Regions from separate parts of the Homo sapiens genome. Here region 1 is linked to region 2. The links are contacts of gene promoters, found by promoter capture Hi-C in blood cells and fetal thymus (Javierre and others, 2016). All regions are on one chromosome and are shown on one strand. The core of a region is centred on a gene start or on the middle of the fragment in contact, and the rest is flanking DNA. Distances in the headings are between cores, read along the strand shown.

Region 1 (6,599 bases), core at 3,219-5,718, 6.1 Mb before region 2:
CAGGCATGAGCCACTGTGCCCGGCCAGACATTTCTTATTTCTTCTTATTTCTAATTCATGTATTATTTCTGCAACGGTATGATTTTTCCCTCTCAATACCTTCTCTTAGCCATTCTAACATCTTTTATATTTCATTCATTCTCTTGTGATTTCACTTTTGATATATTTTATTTTCTTCGGGGTATGAAACATTTGTCTCTATATTTCTTCTGCTTACTGGGGTTAATCTTCTTCCATAATATATCTTTTCTTTTTAGAATATATTCCTTTATTTCATCTCTTCCCCAATATCACAATTTAAAATGTTTATGTCAGTCTTATTTCCTTTTCATTCATCTTTGATGAATATTTACTATCTAAAATTTCTATTTATATTGAAAGAAACAGGGTGGATGAATTATCTTTGAGGACCCCAGGCTTCTTGTTGGATTCAAGCAATGAGGAGCCACAGAAGAAAGCTGGAAGGAGGCATGAGAATGGGTTCGTAAAATGTGGTATGAGATTGGGCCCCTTCATAGTTTTAGTGTTTGTTTTTTTCTTTTTTACTTCGTAATTTTTAAAAATTAAAATATAATTGAAAAAATCTTTGAGGAGAAAGGTTATGTAAGCCTGCCATCTATCCTACTTAAGCCCAGATGTGAATTACCACATATTGCCCTGCGATCTTTTCCTATCTGAGGGAAGAAGCCTTGGTTAGTTGACTTTTGGATTAATAAGGAATGCAAGCAATTATAGGGATAGAGGAATGGAATCTACAGTGCTAGACAATATTGAAAGATACTCAGAGTTTCTTGAATCAAGGAATAGAGAAGTCTTTAGGTGTCTTTCCTGATTCTGCTCAATGACAATGAAAGGGAAGGCTAGAACTTTTTATTTTTTTTGATGAAAAGATTTGATTACTTTGGATTAGGCCTATGATATTAAAAATCAACTGCTAGCACAGTTTCCTAGTTAAAATGTTTGGAATTTAGCATTCTATTCCAAAATGATAAAAACATATTTCAATTCTCCAGTTGTAATATGGGTTTCTCCAGATTGCACTGTATTTTCACAATGTTCCAACTCATATTTAGTTGGGTGGGTGGAAACATTTTAAAAACTAGTCTCATATTTTTAAGGAAAGTTGGAATACTTATAAATGAAAGTCACGATTCTTAGGATAAAATAAAAACTTGCACATGGATTTTTTATTCATATTTTTTCTTAAAACATATAAATAAACTTAACAATGTTGATGACTATGACTAGCATACCACTAAATTTTAATTATGGAAATTCTAATGCTGAATAATAATTTGGATCTAAAGAAAACTTTTGATATATGATTATGGATAAGCTTTGGGGTGAAATTTTATAGTTTCTACCAAAATGTAAGTGATATTAATTTTTAGGATGGTCTTATGGCTGAAAAACAGCTAAATCGCTGGCAGTGAAGTTTATTTATTTATTTATTTGAGATGGAGTGTCACTCTGTCAACCAGGCTTGGCCCTGCCTCCCAGGTTCAAGCAATTCTCCTGTCTCAGCCTCCTGAGTAAGCTGGGATTACAGGACCGTGCCACCATGCCCAGCTAATTTTTGTAGTTTTAGTAGAGATGGGGTTTTACCATGTTGTCCAGGCTGGTCTCGAATGTCTGACCTCAAGTGATCCACCCACTCGGGCCTCCCAAAGTACTGGGATTACAGGTGTGAGCCACAGCGCCTGGCCAGAGAAGTTTCGATAAGGAGATAAAATGTGGCATTTCCGAAAGTTGAGGCCCATACCAAGTGTTCTCTTTGTGGATACCTCTTATAATTTACACTCTTTGTTTTAGGCATATTCACATAGGCCTATACATATATCTTCCTGTGACCTGTACTGTTATTGGACCTGTACAGCCAGGAATTTCTTGAGGTATAAATATTTATCAATAATAGTGACATAACCATCTTTTATTTCTTGAATAATTCTGTAGTAATTTCTATGTGTAAAAGATGTGGTAGATATTGTGGGGATGTGAAAGTAGTAAAAGCTCCAGGAATCTCCTCTAGAGAAGTTTATAATCCAGATTAAAAAAGGAGATAATATTTAGCTAAATAAGATTTATTATTTTTTTCCCACAATATATCCGTGTAACAAAAGAAGATTGTTTATAATCAAGTAACAGCAACAAACAAACAAACAAACAAACCCAAAAATAAACACCAGTATTCTAGTCCAGAGGAGGAAAAGATGACAATAAACTGAGGGCAGATAAATTATTCAAGAATATTTATTGTGTGTGGCACTTTACTAGGCATTGTATATAATGAATTAAATAATGTCATTGCCTTCTAGAAATTAATCATCAAAGATAGTAATCATGTGGAGAGAAATAATAAGATACATATTTAGCAAATGCAGAACAATAAATTAGTAAATCATTTACATTATTTGTTTAAAAGAGATGAAGGAAGAGTCCTAGAAATTGCTGATTGTGGAGAATCATTCCCTTCTCTCAATTACAATAGTTAAATGCCTTGCAAGTGTGGTGGGATTTCTGTAGCTATTCAGTTCAACATGAAAATCTTTTGCTTTTTTTGTCCAGGCATGGTGGCTCACGCCTGTAATCCCAGCACTTTGGGAGGGCGGGGTGGGTGGATCACCTGAGGTCAGGAGTTCGAGACCAGCCTGGCCAACATGGTAAAATTCTGTCTCTACTAAAAAATACAAAAATTAGCTGGGTGTGGTGGTGCATGCCTGTCGTCCCAGCTACTGGGGAGGCTAAGGCACGAGAATCCCTTGAACCCAGGAGGCAGAGGTTGCAGTGAGCCAAGATCACACCACTGCACTCCAGCCTGGATGACAAAGTGAGACTCCGTCTCAAAAAAAAAAAAAAAGTCTTTTGCTCTTTCAAAGTAATATTAGCATGTAATGTGTCTTTTTGGTAATGTGTGAATAAGAAATAAACAAAACAAAACCCCTTACTCTTCTGAGGGCTATTGGTCTTAACGTAGTTTTGCAAAGGCTTCAACCCAAATTGCAAATTTCATTTGTGGATTCACTAGCAAACACTTGTGCTTCTCAGATGTGCCAGCTTCTGTTAACATATTCAGAGTAGAAATCATTCATAGATTATCATAGAATGGCCTTCCACACCAGGGGCTGGGATACTTTGCCTCTATTTTTGGCTTTGACATTTTTTCCCTTGATATTGGTTCACCAAAACAATATTATGTCATTAGCAAAGCCAACACTTACCTTTTAAGGATACAGTTCTCATCTTCATAAATGTCTTGCCTAGATTTAGTGTATAAAGCTTTCTTGTAGTTTTTATTAATATAGCTATAGTAATTTCAGAGGCTATTTCAAAGGATACTCCAAGAAGTTTGATTATAGGAAACCCACACATTTATTAGCTATACTCTAAGGAGGAAAATAGCCTTTCAAAGCAAACAAAGCTAGAATTACTGTTAGCTCTTGCTTATCCATGATATTTGAGGATAAAGAAAACTATCAAGATAGCAACCAGTTAGTTTCAATCTCCTTTCAGTTACAATGGCCCCAAAACCTATTGTTTCACCAAATCTCTCACTGAAACTAACACGTAGCCGCGTGACTGAAGTTTGGCCCCCTTTCCTTTCCCTTGCCCTCCCTCTGGTGGAGGTGTTTACAAGTGAGATGTCCACGATGGGCAGCTAAAGAGAATTCCAAGGGCTTGCACCCTCCACCAATTACGCCAATTAGCCTTTGGAATGGAGAAAAACCAGCTGCAGGCTTCCTCTTTCCAGATGCGTGGGGGGCCACACTCACTTTTTGGTCTGGTCAGAAGGCATCCAAATGATGACCAAGCGCGGTGGCTCACGCCTGTAAACCCTGAACTTTGGGAGGCTGAGGCATCATTTGTTCAAGACCAGTCTGGGTAACGTGGTGAAACCCTGTCTCTACGGGGTGGGGGCGGGGAAGAAAGAAAAATTACCCGGGTGTGGTGGCATGTGCCTGTAGTTCCAGCTACTCAGGAAGCTGAGACACCAGAATCCCTTGAGCCCAGGAGGCAGAGGTTGCAGTCAGCCGAGACTGTGCCATTGCACTCCAGCCTGGTGACAGAGTGGACCTCATCTCAAAAACAAAAACGAACAAAACAAACAAACACAAAAAAGCATCCAAATGAGAGCTGATATTAAAATATTCTTGTTCATGGCTTCAGAAAGGAATAGACCTAATTTTTAACTGGGTTCATATATTCCTAAACAGTATCAATAAAATGTTATAAACAGTAGGGTTCCTGTTGGGGAAATAGTACAAACTTCTGCTTTATAGTAATATTTTATTTTTTGAGATGGAGTCTCGCTCTGTCACCCAGGCTGGAGTGCAGTGGCGCAATCTCGGCTCACTCCAACCTCTTCCTCCCGGGCTCAAGGGATTCTCATGCCTCAGCCTCTCAAGCAGCTGGGATTACAGGCACGTGCCACCACGCCAGGCTAATTTTTGTATTTTCAGTAGAGAAGGGGTTTCACCATGTTGCCCAGGTTAGTCTTGAACTCCCGGCCTTAAGTGATCCGCCCGCCTTGGCCTCCCAAAGTGCTGGGATTACAGACATGAGCCATCATGCCCAGCCCATAATATTTTGATTGAAATAATGTTTTTTACGTTTTAAAAGTGTCTTCTGTTGCCCAGGCTGGAGTGCGCTGGTGTGATCAAGACTCACTGCAGCTTTGACCTCCTGGGCTCAAGCGATCCTCACACCTTAGCTTTCCAAGTAGCTGGGACCACAGGCATTGGCCACCACACCTGGCTAATTAAAAAAAAATTTTTTTATAGATATAGGGCCCCGTTATGTTGCCCAGGCTTGTTGAACTCATGGGCTCAAGTGGTCCTCCTGCCTGGGCCTGCCAAAGTGCTGAGATTACAGGCATAAGCCACCGCACCTGGCCTTAAAATTTCTTCACATCTATTATCTCATTTGATTCTCTTTAACAGTCCAGCAAGACAGGGAGGATGCTGTTACAACTCAGAGGTCCTGTAGAAGCCCAGGACACAGGTTTTTCAAATCTTAGCTGTGTGCCTTTGCACTTCTCCGTACAGATAGCCTAATACACTTAAGATACCTAAGATAGTAACTTATCATAACAGTTCTTAAAAACATTCCCAAATTTTAGAACATCACAATTATATTTGTCCCAGGAGTAGAGTTAAATTGGCACTCAAAGACCACAATAATTCACACATAGTAAGTTAAGTGTTAGCTGTTATTATTAAAAACCCATATTAAGAGGTAGTACAGTGATTTATTTATTTATTTATTTATTTATTATTTTTTGAGACACAGTCTGGCTCTGTTGCCCTAGCTAGAGTGCCACACTTGGACAGGGCTCACTGCAGCCTTGAACTGCTGGGCTCAAGCGATCCTCCTGCCTCACAGCCTCCTTTGTAGCTGGGACTACAGGCACATGCCACCACGCCCAGCTAACTTTTTGTTTGTACAGACGGGTCTCCCTATGTTGTCCACGCTGGTCTCAAACTCCTGGACTCAAGCGATCCTCCCACCTCAGCCTCCCAAAGTGCTGGGATTACAGGCATAAGCCACTGGGCCCAGCCTAGTATAGTGTTGTGAATAAAAGAATGGACTCTGGAGCCAGATCCCCTGGGCTTGAATCCTTGCTTCACCACCCACCTATCTCAATATGTTGTGTGTAAAGCTTTTAGAGGAGTACCTAGCAGGAGGTATTGAATTTGATAGCTCTAGTACTTAGACACATAAGTCATAATTTTCCCTAAGTTACGTGGTAAATGATGGAGTTGGATTGTAATCTTGATCCTTACATCTTATTACCTCTTATAGAAATATTGCCTCTCTAGGTTATGTTATTTTTCCATAATTCCTAGAATGTGTTTTCCTTCCTTTTCCTTCTCCTTTCATGGCCCACATTTTACTCTCCTTTATCAAACTGAAAATTTCACAATCAACATTTAAAAAATTTCTAGTGCAAAAATTTTAACCCAAAAGTCCTCAGCTGTTAGGTACGCCGTTCATGCCATGCATGCACATTTGCATGTGCAAGGAGTTGTTTTGTGCTGTAAGTTGTTTTTCCTTTCTGGACATATTCTATAAGCCCACAAGCGGTGAGCTACTTGAACCCTGAATTTCTATTCACTTCTTGTTAATTTACTCAATTGTATCTAGCACTGGATACTGCTACAGCCACTGGGCTATTTAGTAAATTACCATCTGACTGAAATACAGTCCTTGTATTTTATTCTATTTTTCTTTTCTTGATTATTAGCTGACTTGTTTGGTGACAGGCTGTCAAGAACACGCAAATTTCATGGCCATATAAAAATGATCTCGTCAACGTCTTCCCTCGAATTGAAGCGGAGGATTTAGTTGTAGATTTGGTTTGGCACCTTCCACTTTAAGGAAGATGTAAAAACTAAGGCGCAGGTACTCCAGCTGCAGGGAGTGTTTTTTGTCCCCGCTCCCCTGTCCCCCATAAAGAAACAGGACCTCAGGTGGTGGGCGGGCGGGGAAGGAGAAGGGATGTTTCTAAGTCTACAGGGGAGAGTGTAGAAAGAAAGAAGGAAAAGGTAAGAGGACTCCACAGTTTCTAGGTTTTGTTCTTCTTTTTTTCCCTCTGGACAGCG
Region 2 (6,739 bases), core at 768-3,267:
GCTGAGGAGTTCGAGACCAGCCTGAGCAACATGGTGAAACCCCATCTCTACTAAAAATACAAAAATTAGCCGGGCGTGGTGGTGGGCACCTATGATCCCAGCTACTGGGGAGGCTGAGGCAGGAGAATCACTTGAACCTGGGAGGCAGAGGTTGCAGTGAGCTGAGATAGCACCACTGCACTCCAGCCTGAGCGACAGAATGAGACTCCATCTCAAACAAACAAAAAAGTCTAAATGTCCTCAATTCTGTCCGTGTGTGGCACTAGTGAAGTAATTTCTGGCAAATGCTTTATCAGCATTTTCTTTCCATAGTTTATAGAGATGTTCATCCATCTTTTCATTTAGTCATTCAGTAAGTATTTGAGTGCCCATTATGGATTAGGCTTGGGTACATAGTGGTGTGATAAAGTCTCTATCCTTGTGGAGTTTAAAATGTAGTTCAACTTGTTTCTCCTCCTTTATCGCTAAAATACAGATTCTAGCCATCAGTGGTGCTATGGTCACCATGAAATTCAGGCTACAGAAATTCCTTTGGAAATGTCTGATTTAGACATTTATCACTTTCAGATGTTTTAGCCATGAAAGAATCTCATGGATTTATTGAAGAAATATGCTATGGTCAAGGACAAGGTATTGGCTCTAGAAGCCAAATTACTAGTCTTTATCCTGGCTTTTTATTTGTGAGAACATGGAGAGTTGTTTCAACCCTAGGAACCTTGATTTACTCTTTAAAACAGAGAAAATGGGCTGGGCGTGGTGGCTCACGCCTGTAATCCCAGCACTTTGGGAGGCTAGAGAGTCAGATCAGTTGAAGTCAGGAGTTTGAGACCAGCCTGGCCAGCATGGTGAAACCCCGTCTCTATTAAAATTACAAAGATTAGCTGGGCCTGGTGGCACATGCCTGTAATTTTAGCTACTCGGGAGGCCAAGGCAGGAGAATCTCTTGAACCAGGAGGTGGAGGTTGCAGTGAGTCGAGATCCCACCATTCCACTCCAGTCTGGGCGACAGAGACTCAAAAAAAAAAAAAAAAAAAGAGCAGAGAAAATGATAAACAACTTGCAGGTTGTTGTGTGGTATAATGGTCATTCATTATTTTCTACTCTTTCTGGTAAAGAGTTGGTGTGTCATGGAAAGTACCTGTTCTATGTGTGTGTGTCTGTGTGTATAATTCGGTGTGAAAATTAAAGAGAAAAAAACAATAAAAAACCCTTTCCTATACTTATGTGTAAATTACCATGGTGTGCTGCAAAAAACATATGTCAAGGTGATAGAATTATTTTGACTTTCCTGTACAGTTATAAAATGACTCAGTGAGTTTGGTTAGATATCCTCGTTCTTTGAATCTATATCCTTGTCTGCTTATGATGAAAAAAAAGAAAAAAAAATAATGGCGAGGGTCTTCCAAACTCTAAAGAATATGTCAACTATGATACAAGTAGCAGTTAGCCTTATAACTAACTGTAAACACTGTCTGTGGGTTTTAAGTTTTACCTGAGCATTGGATATTAACAGACCATTAGCCCAACTTTCAAAAATATGAACCCTATGAACTTCACAACTGAAGTCAGATCTGTATGCCTGAGAGAGGTAAAATCATGTCATGAAATCAAACGGTGGCTGATGCGCCCAAATTCTGGCCTCATCCTCTAACTGGAGGACATCTGGCAGGACAGCAACTGGGCTGTGCCTTTTTTCAGTCCAGCAACATCTTCCACTCAACCCACGCCATTTGGCTGTTTCCCCATTGCCCCTGGCACCTAGCCCTCCGGTACCGGGAACTAAATATCTTTGACCATCCCGCCCGCGGGGTCTGCCTACTTAACCTGAGGCAGGTGAAAGAGCCTCACGCAGGGTTAGGAACCTCCGGGGGCGTGGCGTAGCGTAACGCAGTGTTGGGGAAACTTGCGGCTGTGGATTGGGGGACCGGAAAGGGAGGGGTGGGCCGCAGGCGCCGGACGTGACGTAAGCCGGAAGCGACTTTCCGCCGAGAAATAGGGGGCGCGTGTTTGGAAATTGATAGAAAAGATAAAGGGACCGAGCTGCTGTCAGCCTGGCTTACTGATCTGCGTCCGTTTCACCACGGATTCAGTTACTAAGCATTTTTTTCTTTTTTTGGTTCTTTGCAACGTGAGTGGCATTGGCTCAGTGATTTCCATGAGCATCTCTACCAGAAAACATTGCCTCGATGAGGTGTGGTGGAAGCCCGGCAGCCCCTTCTAATCGGCTAGGCTTGAGAAAGCGTGTACCTCTGCATTTCCGAAATTAACTCAGCGTGATCGGCAAGATTTTCCTCAGCATCTGGTGTCAAGACACTCGTCACTATTAATTCGGAAAGAAAAAAAAAAACAAAACACCGTTTTCCAGCATTTCTCTTGGTGGAGAACTAAACAACAGGAAAAATGTCTATTTTCCCTAAGATATCTTTGAGACCTGAGGTTGAAAACTATCTTAAGGAAGGCTTTATGAATAAGGAGGTAGGTCAAGTAAAGATGTTAGTTGATATTTTGCAAAAACTCAAATATTCGCACACTCGAGAGAAATAGAAATAAGTATAAAGGGAAATCTTGACAGCCGTCGTTCCTTACTACTTGTCTATCAAGTGTAAAAATACCAATATGTTTCTACAGGTATTAAAGCTTACTGAGATACGAAGTGAATAAGGTATATGTTTTAACATTTAGGAGTGGAAAAGAAGGGAAAAAAGGCATGTGCCTGTCAGGCATGGCACAAAGGGTTACAAGGATGAACAAGAAAAGGTCCCTGTCTTCAAGAACTCGAATCGAATTTTAAAAGAGCGCTGGCTCTGGCACTCAGGTGAAAAGGTTTCTGTAATTTGTTGAGTGCCTCTTAAATGCCAGCAGTTGTGCTAGGAGATTTGCATCTTTAATCTTCACAATCTTTTTTTTCTTAGAGGTTTTTCCTCTTTTAATAGACTTGAGCAGAAAACTGCTCAAGGAATTGTGTAACTGATCCAAGTTGACACAGCTATCAAGTAACTATTGAAATCTGGAGGGAAAGAGTTCAGGTGTAATGAACAAAGGTACAGCTTTTGAATCTCAGGCACATGATTTGCATTCTAGTGCTTTGTAAATTACGTGGCTTAACCTAGATTTTTCTCTTCTGTGAAAAATTGAGAATGGTTAAAAATATCTTGCCAGGTTGTTTTAGGATATTAAACGTAAGTGAATACAACTAGCATTGTTTTGGCATGTAAGTCCTCAAAAAATGTTAATTTTATTTGCTAAAGTCCTCAGTAAATGTTGATTATCTTTGATTGCAAAGCCTGTTGTCTATTCCATTTTACCATGCTGCCTCTAAGCAACTTTGTTTTTTTTCAAATCTTTAATTTTTTAGTCAAGTTAAAAATATTTTACCAGGTTGTTTTAGGATATTAAACGTAAATGAAAACAACTTGCATTGTTTTGGCATGTAAGTCTTCAAAAAATGTTAATTTTGTTTGCAATTGGCAGTGCCTGCCACAGAAGTCCTCAGTAAATGTTGATTGTCTTTTATTGCAAAGCCTGTCCTCTCTACCACTTTACCATGTTGCCTCTAAGCAACTTTGTTTTTTTTGAAATCTTTAGTTTTCTTAGTTAGAGTAACACCACTTAAATGTTACTCATTTTTGAATATGTTATTGAAGCCATGCCTTTTAGATTTGATTTCTACGTTTCATTTCCAAAGATTAGCTTGAGGTACTAGACTGTATGGAAAGAGAAAATATATTCTGTTGATTTCAAGGGACTTAAAATATAAGGCACATATTAGGAGAAGTAGGGGCATACCACAATTTTTTCAGCAGATTTTAAAATGGAGAACGTCGTTTTATAAAGAAGATCCAAACGTCTTTCTTTGACACTGCCTCTGCCTCGAGTCTCATCAGTGGTATGGTTTTACAAAATGAAAAGCTATGCCTTTGTGAAAAGTACTGAAGGGAAAGGAATATTAAGTTTTATGCCTTTTTTTTTTTTTTTTGAGACAGGGTCTCCCTCTGTTGCCCATGTTGGAGTGCAGTGACATGATCACAGCTCACTGCTGCTTCGACCTCTGGGACTCAAGTGATCCTCTCACCTCAGCCTCCCGAGTAGCTGGGACCTCAGACAGGGGCCACCACTCTGGCTAATAATATTTGTATTGTTTGTAGTGATGGGGTTTCACCATGTTGCCCAGGCTGAATGTTCAGTTTTGATAAGACTAAACCTTGAGAAAGTATGAATACTTTTAAGGCTGGTGCATGAGTAGGCTAACAAGTGGTTTGTGAAGATTCTGTAAAGCAGGGTTTAGTCAAATAGGAAGACAAAGAAATACGTTTCTTGAAAAGCTTCGGTTAATTACAAGGGAATATTGTTGAGTCTTTATACCGTCATATTTGACAGGTGTCTTTGCTACTCATCTTTTTTGGATAATATATATTTGTTACATTTAATAACACCATATTAAAAAGCTGATGTCCTAGGGGAATCTTTATATGACAGTGACTATATCAATATTACTTATTTTTTAAATATTGGTATTTTAAAAGGATACCAGCCAGTTTGCTCTTGGATATGATGTTAGCTAATTAGCTAACGTCCAACTAACTTGGATATAATGCTAGCTCTACAGAGATGCTGTAATGGTAATGCATTATAAATAGACTGAATTCCTGAATTTATGTGAATAAATGTAGCAGATACTAATATTTGGAAAATGTTCATAATGCTTTGAAGTTTAGGCAATGTTTTTCTAAGCCCTTTATTTCAGGCATTTTCTTAGGTGTTTATTACCATGTTGAAGCCCAAGAACCCCGTGAAGTATTACTATTTCCTTAGTTGCTATTAACATATAAACAATACAGCAAAATAGAATGGAGCTGAACAATTGCTAAGCGATGTTTCATTAGATGGAATTAATATATAAGGATGCTCTGCTGACTGTTTTTAATTCTCAGGAAATTTAAACATGAACTTCTTTTTAGATTGTGACTGCTTTAGGTAAACAAGAAGCAGAAAGGAAGTTTGAAACTTTGTTAAAGCACCTGTCACATCCTCCATCATTTACAACTGTCAGAGTGAATACACATTTAGCCTCAGTACAACATGTGAAAAATCTGTTACTTGATGAACTTCAGAAGGTTTGTGGAAATTTTCTGTCATTTGTACATAATTACATTTTTGCAATCTACCATGTTTTCCATTAAAATCCTATGAATGATATAATACACTTCCAGTTTTACAGATAAGGAGATTGAGGACCATGAATGGTAAATTCTTCAAAGTTATCCTAGGTGGTAATGCTAGAACTTGAACCTAGTACTTCTGATTCTAAATTTATTCATTTTTGGTGACTAAAATAGCTCATTAAACCCCTCTGGGCCGCATTAAACTGGGCCTTAGTAGCTTCATCATTAAAATACATGTGAAGAAGTCCAGTCTAACCTTAAAAACCTGTGGCTTTGTGATAAGTAGCATATAATGACCAGGAGGACAGATGGTATAGCTGAGATAATAAGCCCAGGGGTAAGGAGGTACATACTAAGTACCTGTGAGATTATATTGTTAATTGACATAAAAAAATAGATGTTGGGCCAGGCGTGGTGGCTCATGCCTGTAATCGCAGCATTTTGGGAGGCTGAAGCAGGTGGATCACATGAGGCCAGGACTTTGGGACCAGCCTGGCCAGTATGGCGAAACCCTGTCTCTACTAAAACATATAAAAAAATTATTCGGGCATGATGGCACATGCCTGTGATCTCAGCTACTTGGGAGGCTGAGGCACGAGTAATCCCTTGAACCCGGGAGGTGGAGGTTGCAGTGAGCCGAAATTGCATGACTGCACTCCAGCCTGGGCGATGGAATGAGACTCTGTCTCAAAAAAAAAAAAAAAAAAAAAAAAAAACAAGGTGTTGAGCGCCTTATGTTTTATAAAACCAGGAAATTAAGATGATGAATCTGAATCTATTTTCAATGTAAAACAGCATGAGACTTTTTTTACCCAACCAATAAAATAGTTTTGGCAAAATATTCCTCTTACAGATGAAAACAATATTATAAAATGGCATTTATGACTTCTAAGCAGAAAGTATGAGTTATCTTGTTTATATTTTTTTGAGTTATCTTGTATATACTCTTTTGCTTTTGAAAGCTTTGCCTTAGGTGTTTCATACACTGTACACTGAAATTTACCTCAAAAGCAATGTAGGATGTAGAAGAATAGATGCTGAGAGGTACCACATAAATTGTATACTGTAGTTATTCACTGACTGGTAACATGTAACGTGGGTGTCAGCAGACTCATTTCTGCCTTATTTGTGTCTGAGTTAAAAGCGAGAGGCAACCATGATTAAAGGGTTTCCATTTGTCAATCACAAGCTGTATTTAGTTATTTAGAAAATTTCAGAAAATTATCACTGAGTCACTTATCCCCTTTTAAAAAATCTCTCTATTACATTTATGGACTCTTTGTCATACTCTATTTAAGAACAACTATAAGTACCAAGTTGTGAATAGACAACCATGTTATTAGAAGAACCAGCTATGGCATCTCAGTGTATGAGACCAAACCTTAGTATAATAATTAAATAAGATTTTTTAAAAATTAATCTGATTTTTATTGATAGTGATAATCTTATTGAGAGTAATGACAGGTATAAAACATAAGTAGTTGCCCTAAGCAACTAAAATCATTACTTTTCCATAACCATGTGTATGTTTTCAGCTAATAAAAAGGAAACTGTTCTGAGGCCCACTGGAAGTATCC

Evidence for each region. The method cuts DNA at HindIII sites, captures the fragments that hold promoters and counts their contacts. A CHiCAGO score of 5 or more calls a contact.
Region 1: a contact is called between a fragment that was not itself captured here and the fragment with the promoter of NSUN6 in region 2, in 4 of 17 cell types (naive CD8 T cells, total CD4 T cells, activated CD4 T cells and 1 more). The highest score is 8.8, in naive CD8 T cells.

The regions. Positions count from the first base shown.
Region 1 is chr10:24,725,069-24,731,667 of GRCh38, reverse strand. No RefSeq gene overlaps it. Among named protein-coding and RNA genes, the nearest start is that of ARHGAP21, 4.5 kb to the right of the region's middle. The HindIII fragment of the contact is 2,380 bases long and covers 3,279-5,658 here.
Region 2 is chr10:18,646,865-18,653,603 of GRCh38, reverse strand. It overlaps NSUN6 (NOP2/Sun RNA methyltransferase 6), which reads left to right and starts at 2,017. Exons shown (of 11, transcript NM_182543.5): 1 at 2,017-2,475; 2 at 4,959-5,114. The coding sequence starts at 2,401. RefSeq lists an enhancer at 1,778-1,877. The HindIII fragment of the contact is 3,002 bases long and covers 1-2,639 here.